2 separate regions of the Homo sapiens genome follow, and region 2 is linked to region 1. Evidence: promoter capture Hi-C in 16 types of primary human blood cells and fetal thymus (Javierre and others, 2016). All regions are on one chromosome and are shown on one strand. Each heading gives the region's core, a stretch centred on a gene start or on the middle of the fragment in contact. The rest is flanking DNA. Distances are from core to core; before and after follow the strand shown.

What was found. Contacts are between HindIII fragments. The CHiCAGO score rates a contact against its expected background, and 5 or more counts as called.
Region 2: a fragment that was not itself captured here is called in contact with the fragment with the promoter of LMX1A in region 1 in 2 of 17 cell types (naive CD8 T cells and total CD4 T cells); the score reaches 6.2 in naive CD8 T cells.

The regions. Positions count from the first base shown.
Region 1 is chr1:165,354,829-165,359,798 of GRCh38, reverse strand. LMX1A (LIM homeobox transcription factor 1 alpha) reads left to right here and starts at 3,084. Exons shown (of 9, transcript NM_177398.4): 1 at 3,084-3,444; 2 at 4,218-4,315. The coding sequence starts at 4,240. The HindIII fragment of the contact is 4,667 bases long and covers 1-3,384 here.
Region 2 is chr1:165,892,573-165,897,472 of GRCh38, reverse strand. UCK2 (uridine-cytidine kinase 2) reads right to left here. Exons shown (of 7, transcript NM_012474.5): 4 at 1,141-1,283. Among named protein-coding and RNA genes, the nearest start is that of MIR3658, 13 kb to the left of the region's middle. The HindIII fragment of the contact is 1,691 bases long and covers 1,186-2,876 here.

The DNA.
Region 1 (4,970 bases), core at 1,835-4,334:
TGGGCGGCACAGAGAGACTCCATCTCAAAAAAAAAAAAAAAAAAAAAAAAAAAAAGAAAATGCTCATACAAAATCAGGAACATTAATGGGTGTTATATTGCTTGAGAAACACCCTGAATACACTATCACTGGAAACTCACAGCAGGCCTGGGTGCCATAATTTATAAGAGACAGGAAAACTGGATCAGATTCGAAGACTGGGCAGGAGAGTGAGGCCAGCTCTGCCTTCATCTAAAAGTTTTAGAGGCAGGATTTGACTTCCTGAATGGCTAGCCCCGAGGAATCAATGGAACAGAGGGTGGAAACTTTAGGGAAATGAATTTTGATCCATTACAAACTAAATGGTTGGACCACATGAGCTTTAAAATCATTTCCAACTCTAAACGTGTAATCTTTTGAGTCCCCTCTGAAGCCTATTCACCTCATTCCCATGTATTCTCAGAGTACTTCTTTTTGATAAAAGGGAGAAGATGGCTGATTCTTCATAAATGGCTTCTGGGCAGTGGCTCTGTGGCATCTTCTTTCATTTAAAAGGTAAAATAAAAGTGTTTGAGTTTAAATCACAAGGAAAAACACGAGGCATGGTTAGGAGGATCTTTCATAGAGGGGTCAGAATGATCCACCTGTGATCGTCTCACCCATCCATGTCACTGAGTTGGATAAGGCCAAACTGAAACAATCCTTGGGTAGGAATGGGATTCATGACTCCTACTTCATTGAAAGAGGGCAAATAAATCACAAAAGAGAAAACTCCGAATAAATAAGTTTTATCTTTATTGGTTTAGACACATCACTTAAACACATCAGCCAAGACTATACCTAGGCAACCACTGCTCAGCACCTCATATGGATCTGTTGGTTCTACTGCCTACCCCACTGGCCAAAGCTACCCCACTGCCTACCCCACTGGACTGGTTTCACAGACTTTAGACTGTGAGGGCCTGACCAACCACATAATGTAGACCCTTCATTCCAGAGAGGTATTGACATCTAAAGAGGTGAACTGATGGCCCAGACCAATTCAGTGGCAAAGCTGGGAATGGAACGGAGGTCCTTTGATTCCTGACCCTTCACTGCAGTGCCTTCTGACTGTAGTGAGAGTTCTATTCATTCCTCAACCAAGTAAAAGGCATTTGTTCATCAATTGTATGTGTCTAGGTCTGCACTAAAAGTGATATGACTTATGATGTGATTTTTGAGGCACCGTCCCCATCCTGAAGTGCCCAATGGCTGGGGAGACATTCTCACCAAAAACCTGTGTGATCTACACTAATCAAGCGGCCTTGTGGGTGGATGTAAGAATTGTTTGAAAGATTTGAGTTTCAGGTCAAATGACAATCTATCTACTTTCAGGATATTCACTAAAAGGAATAGTCTTACCACTAGTTAAAATGTATTTCATATATTTCATATAAGACCTTTAGTGAAACCAAAATTCTGCCGGGTATTTACATAAAAACATTCCTTATGGTTGTATCTGCCCTATTCCATTTTTTTCTTGCTTAACTTCTATTTCACATATTATCCTAATAATACTTGTAGTTTGTATTTTTTTACACCCTGCTCTACCTGGGGTGACAGAAAGGACAGAGGTCAGGTGTTAGGAGACATGCCACTAGCCATCTGGGCAACATCAGGGAAATCTCCCAGCCGTGCTAAGCTCCAAAGATTCATCTGAAACAAAAGATAAAACTGTTCTGCCTACCTCACAGGTTTGCTGTAAAGATCAAGCAAAATCATGTATGTGAAAATGCCTGTAAAGCAGCATTCGAATATAACGTATTAGCCTCTTTGCCATTTCCCCTCTTTCTTCTGGAGTCATATTCAGTGTTTGGCTTGTGCCTGCTGGCAGAAAGCACTTAGAATGGCTTTTTTAGTGCTTAGTGGGGTCGCTGCTCCTAAGCACATTAGAGCAAGTTGCTGCCAGCACTTTTTCTTTAGGAATAAAGAAGTGGCTCTGTCTTTGGAGGAGGTAATAGAAAAACCCTGGCTATGTGGCATCTCCTCTGCCTGAGTTCACCATGTCAAACGGCCTGCCAATTTCATCTCAGTTCAGTTCAGTTTAGGAACTGAAGGTGCCCCAGAGAATCACACTGAATTGAACTGAACCTTCCCATGGTATTCAGATGATGGGACTCGGATTCCATGAATTCCCTTCCATTTCCCTCAACTGTAAGATTGGGACAACAATTGTCTCCACTTCATGGGGGTTGTTGTAAAGATTAAATGAGGTGACTGTGTAACAAAGCTGGCACAAAATAAACGATAAACGCTAGCCAGCATTGTAATTTATTTATTGAGCATCCACTTGGGGTCACACAACATGCTTACCTCCTGGGCTATACAGACGGATAAGGCCTTATTCCTGCTCTGGAGGGGGCTAAAGGTCTGTTATTGTAAATTAAAGTTAGGAGGTGCAGATAATTCACATTTCTCCCCAGATACTTTGTTCCCCTAACAATGTCCCTTTACCTGATTTCCTGTTGAGTGTCATTGCAAGTTCATCATCTGGGGGGCAGATCCCACCTAGTGTCTCCCAAGAGCATGATTCTTAGGCCGTGAGTCCCATGGCCTCTGTACGCCCCATGAGTGAATATGGTTCGACCTTAAAGGAAGTTGGAAACTGGCATGAGCCCTCGGGTGATGAGGGGTTTGAGGAGCTAGGAGCTGCTGGGCCCACATCTACTGGCGCTAAACAGCTTCTCAGCGCTTCCCGGGGCCCGGGTAAGGATTGCAGCGCTTTTATAGCAGCAGTTGGAGAGCGGCGGGGGAATCCTCGTGGCGGCACCGCTGTCCAGGAGGCGCCGACATCTCCGCAAAGGCCCAGTCGGGGTGAGGGGCACTGGGGGGCGACCGGGCCAGAGCGCCCCGAGGTAACAGTTACACGTGGAGGGGAGGAAACTTAGCGTGTCCGAGAGCTCCCAGAGGCGGAGGGGCTCAGAGGGCAGCGGCCGTGTGGTGGCCGCGCAGCCAGGCTGGGAAAGGGAGCACCACGGCCCCGCCACGGGACGCGCTGCCAGCCCCCCGCCCAGCGCACCCCACCCCCTCTCCGCCGCCGCGCACGCAGCGCCGCGGCCCCTGTCAGAAGCTGCAGGATCCGCCCCGGCGAAGCAGGGCCGACTCGCACCCAGGACCCTGGGCCTCTGCCTTCCCTCCTAGCCTTGGAGAAGCAACTGGCCCTCTCCTCCCGCTGAGGAGCGACGCGGGCTGGTAGGACGTCCCGGGAAGGCCGGCAGCTCGCGACCACGTCCCGGCCCAGCCTGGGCGCGCCGAGGAGCAGAGCCAGCGGCCGGCGTTCGCTCCGGCTCCCTCCCCGGCGCTCCGAAGCCGAGGGCGGCTCCTCCGGCTGCAGTCTCGGGGGCGACGCCTTCCCGGGCAGAAGCTTCCAGCAGCGCTCCGCAACTTCTCTCTGCTCCAGTCACTGGGAGAGAGCTCGCCTACCAGGTAAGTAAGGCTGCCCGTGCCTAGGCTGTGGCTCGGGCGGGCGTGTTTCTGAAAGTTGACTTGAAATGCATCCAAGAGTGAGCCGGGCCAGCCGGGGCTCCTCCCCGAGGCGACTCTTTTGCTTCTGCAGACATTCCCGGCACTGGCCGACTGGCGGGAGGACCTCCCCGCGCGCCCCGCACACCGGCTCCTGCGCGCACCCCAACAGAGCGCAGCGCCAGGAGTCCAGAAGCGGGCGGGACGCCCTCCGGGTCCCTTACAGTGCCCCTTCTCGACCTGGGGCAGGTGAGGGCCGCAACGGGGCGGCTGGGACGCGGGATTGCAAACCCCATCGTCCCGCGTGCCTGGACCCGGTCGCTCGAGGGAGGGTACCCACTCTTTATATACCCAATATACCCCAGTAGCTGCGTTCCTGCAGAGACGTCCCGAGGGCCCACCTTCGTATAGGTTGGGGCGGAGTCGGATTCGGGATGGAAAACCTGGGGCAAGGGATGTAGGTGGGGGTGAGGGGGGCAGGAGAAGGAGAAACGCAGTTGGGGGGCGGAGGCCTAAGTACATAACGTGTTGACTTCAAGTGAAATCAGATCAGCCAGAGCAGTTCGCTGTGACTGATCTCTCCTCCCACCCTACATTCTCTTGGCTGGACCCTATCCTCCTGGCTGATTCTGGTCGCCCTGGACACTCCCTCAGTTCTTTCCCAGGAGTGCGGTGGCTGCTGGCGCCGAGTCCCAGCGGGCACGGACGTCAGACGCATCGTTTCTTCTCCTCTACAGGTCCTCCCGGCCCGGCCCGAACATGCTGGACGGCCTAAAGATGGAGGAGAACTTCCAAAGCGCGATCGACACCTCGGCCTCCTTCTCCTCGCTGCTGGGTGAGTGTTCAGGCCGTGCGTCCTGGGCGCACTCTCTTTCCGCTTGGCGCTGAGCTCTGGAGCCCCGCTCTCTGGGACCTGGTCCGCGATAGGGAAGCTAGCGCCCCTCTTCATACACTAAATTGAGCCCCATCACTATCTGTCCGTCAGTGCTTGTGGGTCGTCCCTACCCAAATAAATCCAACAAGCCGCCCCAGGCCTCACGCACTGGGCACCGAATTCCCCAAAGCCGCGAGGGGCGGGCGAGCTTGTTCGTAGGCGTCTGAGTGGCAAGTGATTAAAAATACCCAGGGCTGGATTTTTAATCTCGGAGCTGATCGACGTCTCATAAATGCCGCCCTCTTCTCGCGGCCTAGAGGCAATAGCATCCGAGACCCGAGGCCTGGAGCGCCCAAGTTCGAGGAGGCTTCTCTCCCCCACCAACTCCAGCCCCAATTTCAGCCATGGGCAAGGCCGAGAGAGACTTTTCTGGGCCAGTAGGCAACGCAGCGCGGGGATTAGACCGCGCGGCTGGGCCCTAGGCTCCGCGTTAATTAACTGGAGCTGGATGTCGGGTCCTGTGGGTCCCCCCTCACAACTCCTTTGCAGCGACAGAGGAGGAGCAGCGAGTCAAGGACCCCGGAAGAGTGTCCACACACGGGTCTTGCAGAGCTGA
Region 2 (4,900 bases), core at 782-3,281, 540 kb before region 1:
CACCCACTGCCCTTGCTGGGTCCTGGTCGATTCTAACTCTGCTAATACTCTTCTCATCTCAACTCTGCTCCCTCTCCCACCCATCTAAGGACCACAGCCCTGCCTCTCGTCTAGATCAGCAGAGCAGTCTCCAAAGAGCTGCTCCAGCTACAGGCTTCACTTACATTTCCTTTGTCAGAACCAGTGTCCAACACAGAACAGTGGCCACTTCACTTGCCTCGCTCAGAACCTCACAGTGGCTCTCCCTTGCCCACCGAGAACCAGACTAGAGATCTCAGTCTCTAAAACCAGACCCCAACCTACTTTGTAGTGTCTCTTCGTACAACCCTCTGTACACTCCAGGTTCCTGCCACTCTCGGAACAAGCCACTGTCTGTACATCTCTGCCGTGCACCTTCATGGGTTGCCTATAGCGTCACCCTACCCCACCACATCCAAGTCCCAACCCTTCTTCCTCCATGAAGCCTCCCAATCTCTCCTGGTGGAAGCGAACTCTCTGCTGAATACCCTGTAGAGCTCAGTTCACAGGCTGGGCTCCTCTACCAAGGGGCACTGCTGTGCCTTCAGCACACAAGCACAGGGACTTAGCACAGGCAGGCCCACACTTAGTAGGGCCTGCGGAGGGCACAGCTGACTTCCCTCCTGAGCTGACTGGAAAGAGTGATAATGCCTCCATAAAGCCTGCTGGAAAATAAAGGGCTAGAGAAGCAGGCTAACAGGATGAGCTGCCCAGTACTTCAGGCACAGGGGATCCTATCCTCGGGGGTCCTACAGTTAGTTCCCCAAATCAGAGCATCTTCATTTTGATGTCTTATAAACAAATTGCAAGGAACTAAGCATTTAATCAAACTTTTCCAGGCAAAACCAGATGTCAGTGTCTTATTTAGTCTCTGTGACCTCACAAGCCTTTCGTTATCCCAAACAGTAAGTGACTAATCCCTTCTCAAATGTTACCAAGTGTCTGGGCAGCAGGATATCCTGGGGCTGGACTGACGCAGCCGGGCTGGACCATGCGACACACAGCTGCCTCAGGGAAGGCATGGGCTTCAGACTCAGGCGGGTGGGGTCCTGTCACAGGCTCCCAGCTCCCCCGCCCTCAAGGTGGCCACCAACAGGGCCACCTGAGGCTTTTAGAACGCACCTCTGCGTGAGAGCCGGGTGTCCGCATCTGTATCCACAAAAAGCTTCATCTGGAACAGGTCTCGTACCTCCTGGGAGTAGAAGGCCAGGATCCCTTCAAAGAGCACCACGTCTGCGGGATAGACAGTAACTGTCTCCTCCTTCCTGCAAAGCACAGAGCAGATAATGGGCCAAGCCAGGCAGGGGCTAGCAAGGGACAGAGAACAAGGGCCAGAACATCTGGCTGGGCTGGGTTCTGGGTTCCTTGCCCCCACAGACTTCAAGCGGGGGCTAAAGACTTGGCTAATATGGTCTTACAGAGCCCTCGGACCACCACCAAAGAGCCAAGGGTGATCACGGCCGGGACAAAGGTCTCCTTTGACCACTTCTGAGCTTTCACCATGAAACAGAAATACACGGCAGACATCCTTCTCCTTGGAATTAAAAAAACCTGCTGTTGAATGAAGAATAAAGGCAGACAAAAACAGATGTGATTTCTTTTTTTCTCTGAAGGCGTCTCCAGGAATGCTCTCATGGCCTGGCATTTATGGAACCTAACACTCTGAACTTTAAAAACAGAAACTCACAGTTTTCTCTCAACAACTCCATCCCCTCCCCGCCAGTCCTGAGGCAATTGAAAGGAGGGAGGAAAGGACAGAAGGGGAAGGGAAGGAGGGAAAATAAAGAAAAGTTTTGGGAAAGAGGATACAGACGAGAAAGCATTTGTGAGGAAGTACAGAATCCCGACGTCTGTCTGGTCTGGCTCTACCCCAAACCAACAAAGTGGCCACAGGTCAATCCTGAGCTCCCTAGAGCTGCTCTTCCTTATCAATAAAGCAGAAATATGCATGACCTCATCCACCCAACCCACATGGTTGGGTAGCCTAGGGCAGGCACTAATTGTAAACATGACTTTTCTTTCTTTTTCTTGTTTTTGGAGACAGGGTCTCACTTTGTCACCCAGGAGGCTGGAGTGCAGCGGCGCAATCTTGGACTCACTGCAGCCTCAACTTCCCAGGCTCAGGCGATCCTCCCGCCTCAGCCCCCTAAGTGTCTAGGACTACAGATGCACACCACCACCCCAGGCTAATTTTTGTATTTTTGGTAGAAACGGGGTTTTACCATATTGCCCAGGCTGGTCTATAACTCCTGGACTCATGCAACCCACCCACCTCAGCCTCCCAAAGTGCTAGGATTACAGGCATGAGCTACCAAGCTCAACCAACATGACTTTTCAAAAAGCAAGAAGGGTGAAACATTGCTAAACGGTTAGGCGACGGGCTGTCACAGATGGCCTTGCTTGTGCTCAGCTTTGCCTTGCTGCAGCTTTCACTGTGTTTTGTCTTTTGATTCTGTCCTATGCCCACCTTATATGTCACCAACTGCCTCTTGCTCAAAATTCACTGAAAATAGAGAAATAATCATCATTGCAAGGTTTCCACTCACCCTGACTAGCACACTGGCAAACCAAATAAAACAAAGTCTCTTAAAACAGTAGTTCCATCTGTGCAAACATAAGGAGGTCAGTATCAACGGCCAGCTCAAGAGGGTGCCGTTGGAACTCCTTCCCATAAACACTTCCTGATGCCTTCTCAGCTTGGACCAACAGGCTTGTGTCTGAGTTTTAAGGCAGGCACTGCTAGGGTAGCTAGCAAGTGGCAGAACGGGGCAGGGAAGACGGGAAAAAAGGACTAGGATTAGGAAATGCCCTAGAATTGTGGTGTATCTGAGATGCATATCAGAACCATCTGGGAAGCTTATAAAAATATCCCTACCTGGATCCTACCCCCAAGGAGCTCTGATTTAATGAGTCTGAAGTGGAGCTAGAACTTCAACACTATTTAGAAGCTCCCAAGATATTTCTAACATGCAGCCAGGGTAGAGAAGCACCAGTCTAGAGGAATGTCAGCTGCCAGAAAATGGTGTGCCCATTGTCATTGTGCATAAGAAGGCAACCTAGAGAAGTTCAGAAAACAGAACCAATGGGTAAGTGAAATAGTGAGCCACTCTCTAGGCAACTCCCCTACACCAAGGAGAGTGTGGGAAGGCTTTGTCCAAAAATAAAGTGAATGTATGTGCAAGAGTCCACTTGAACACACTAACAGAGAACACAATGGCTGCACTAAGTTTACATATCCAGGTTAAGTATCCCTTATATGAAATGCTTAGGTGTTTAGAATTTTTGAATTTTGGATTTTTTTCAGATTTTGGAATATCTGCATTATATTTAGGGCATCCCTAATATGGCAGGGGGAGAGAGGATCTACAATGAGCCTCCCTAACATGAAAATCCAAAATCTGAAATGCTCCAATGAGCATTTCCTTTGAACGTCACACTGGCACTCAAAAAGTTTCAGATTTTGGAGCATTTCACATTTTGGGTTTTTAGATTAGGGATGTTCAATCTGTACTGACACTAGATATTAAGAGCATTTTAGGATGCCTAACTGATAAATACTAAAAAGGAAAAGTGGTTTTCCTTCGGAAGGAGAAAATTAACTGCCTAATTTGTTGGTGGTGCCTTAAGAAGTTAGAATTAATCATTTCCCAAGTCCAAACGCAGGTCTAAAAACTGTCATAACAGCTCAGAGTTTTTAAAAAACAACAACAAATTTATTGAGCAACTACTAGCCCAGAATGTGCAAGGAGTCATACCTGGCATAATATACCACTTAGGAATTTAGAGTCTGGCTGGGAAGCCCCAGAAAGAAACTAGCCAATTAGATCATCTGAGATAACCCAGTCTAACCATCTCATTTGGCTTATGGGGAAAAGGATGCTCAGAGAAATGTAATTGCAACAAGTAAATGTCTTCTTCATTTTAGCCCAACAAATTTTTGTTTGTACCAAACGCCCATGGGTGGGATGGAATCAGTTAACCCTGAATGGCTCGATGTCCAATTAAGTGGCCCTTAAGATTTGCAAGGAGGTAGGAAAGGGGTGGATATGGGTCTAGGGTGATCAGTGAAAGTTTCTAAGACATGAGCTTTGAGCCACTAAAGGATAAGGTTTTAAAATATAAGGTATGAGATAAATCAGGAGGAAACGTGAAACATGTCTGCACTGGGAATTCTACCAGGATTTTCTTTTGTTGGCATATCAACTTGATGGAACTCATGATGCACGAGGTCTTCAACTTCCCTCCTCCACTCCTAGACTGCACTGGTCAGGCCCTGGCTCCTGTCAACCATGCTCAGTTCCACTGCTTTCTTTCAGGCCCTTATCAGACTCTCACTGGGGCTGTTCCAAAGGCTTCTTCACAAATGGCATTGCAGATCCTCTCTCCTCCTGCCACCACAATGACCTTTCCACTACAACAATAGACCCGTCTGTAGCTCCCTATTGCCAAAATGTCTGTGCTCCTGGCCCTGCCGCCTATGGCCCTTCATGACCTGAGGTCTGCCTGCCTTCCCACACACCCACTCCCATTCCTCCACACCTCTCCACTGCCATGCCCCAACCAAGCTGATCCATGCCTAGCTCTGAAATGCTTCCCTACCCAGCACCTTGGAAATCCCTTTCCCAAACAACTTCTTATCCTTTCCTATCTAAAGCTTAAATATCACCTCCTCCATACAACCTGCTCTGAATCCCCTGCTCTTCCTCCCTCCTTTACATTCTTCTGCAGGCCCTTGCCTTAGCCATCATGCTGCATTTTAATTCTTTACTTGGGAAGTGGTGGGCTGGAATGTCTCTTGTCAACGTGACACCACCACCACTTCCCCCTAAGGGAGAACTACAATTCTCAGAATCCCTTGCCCCACATGCTTCCAGGTTACTAC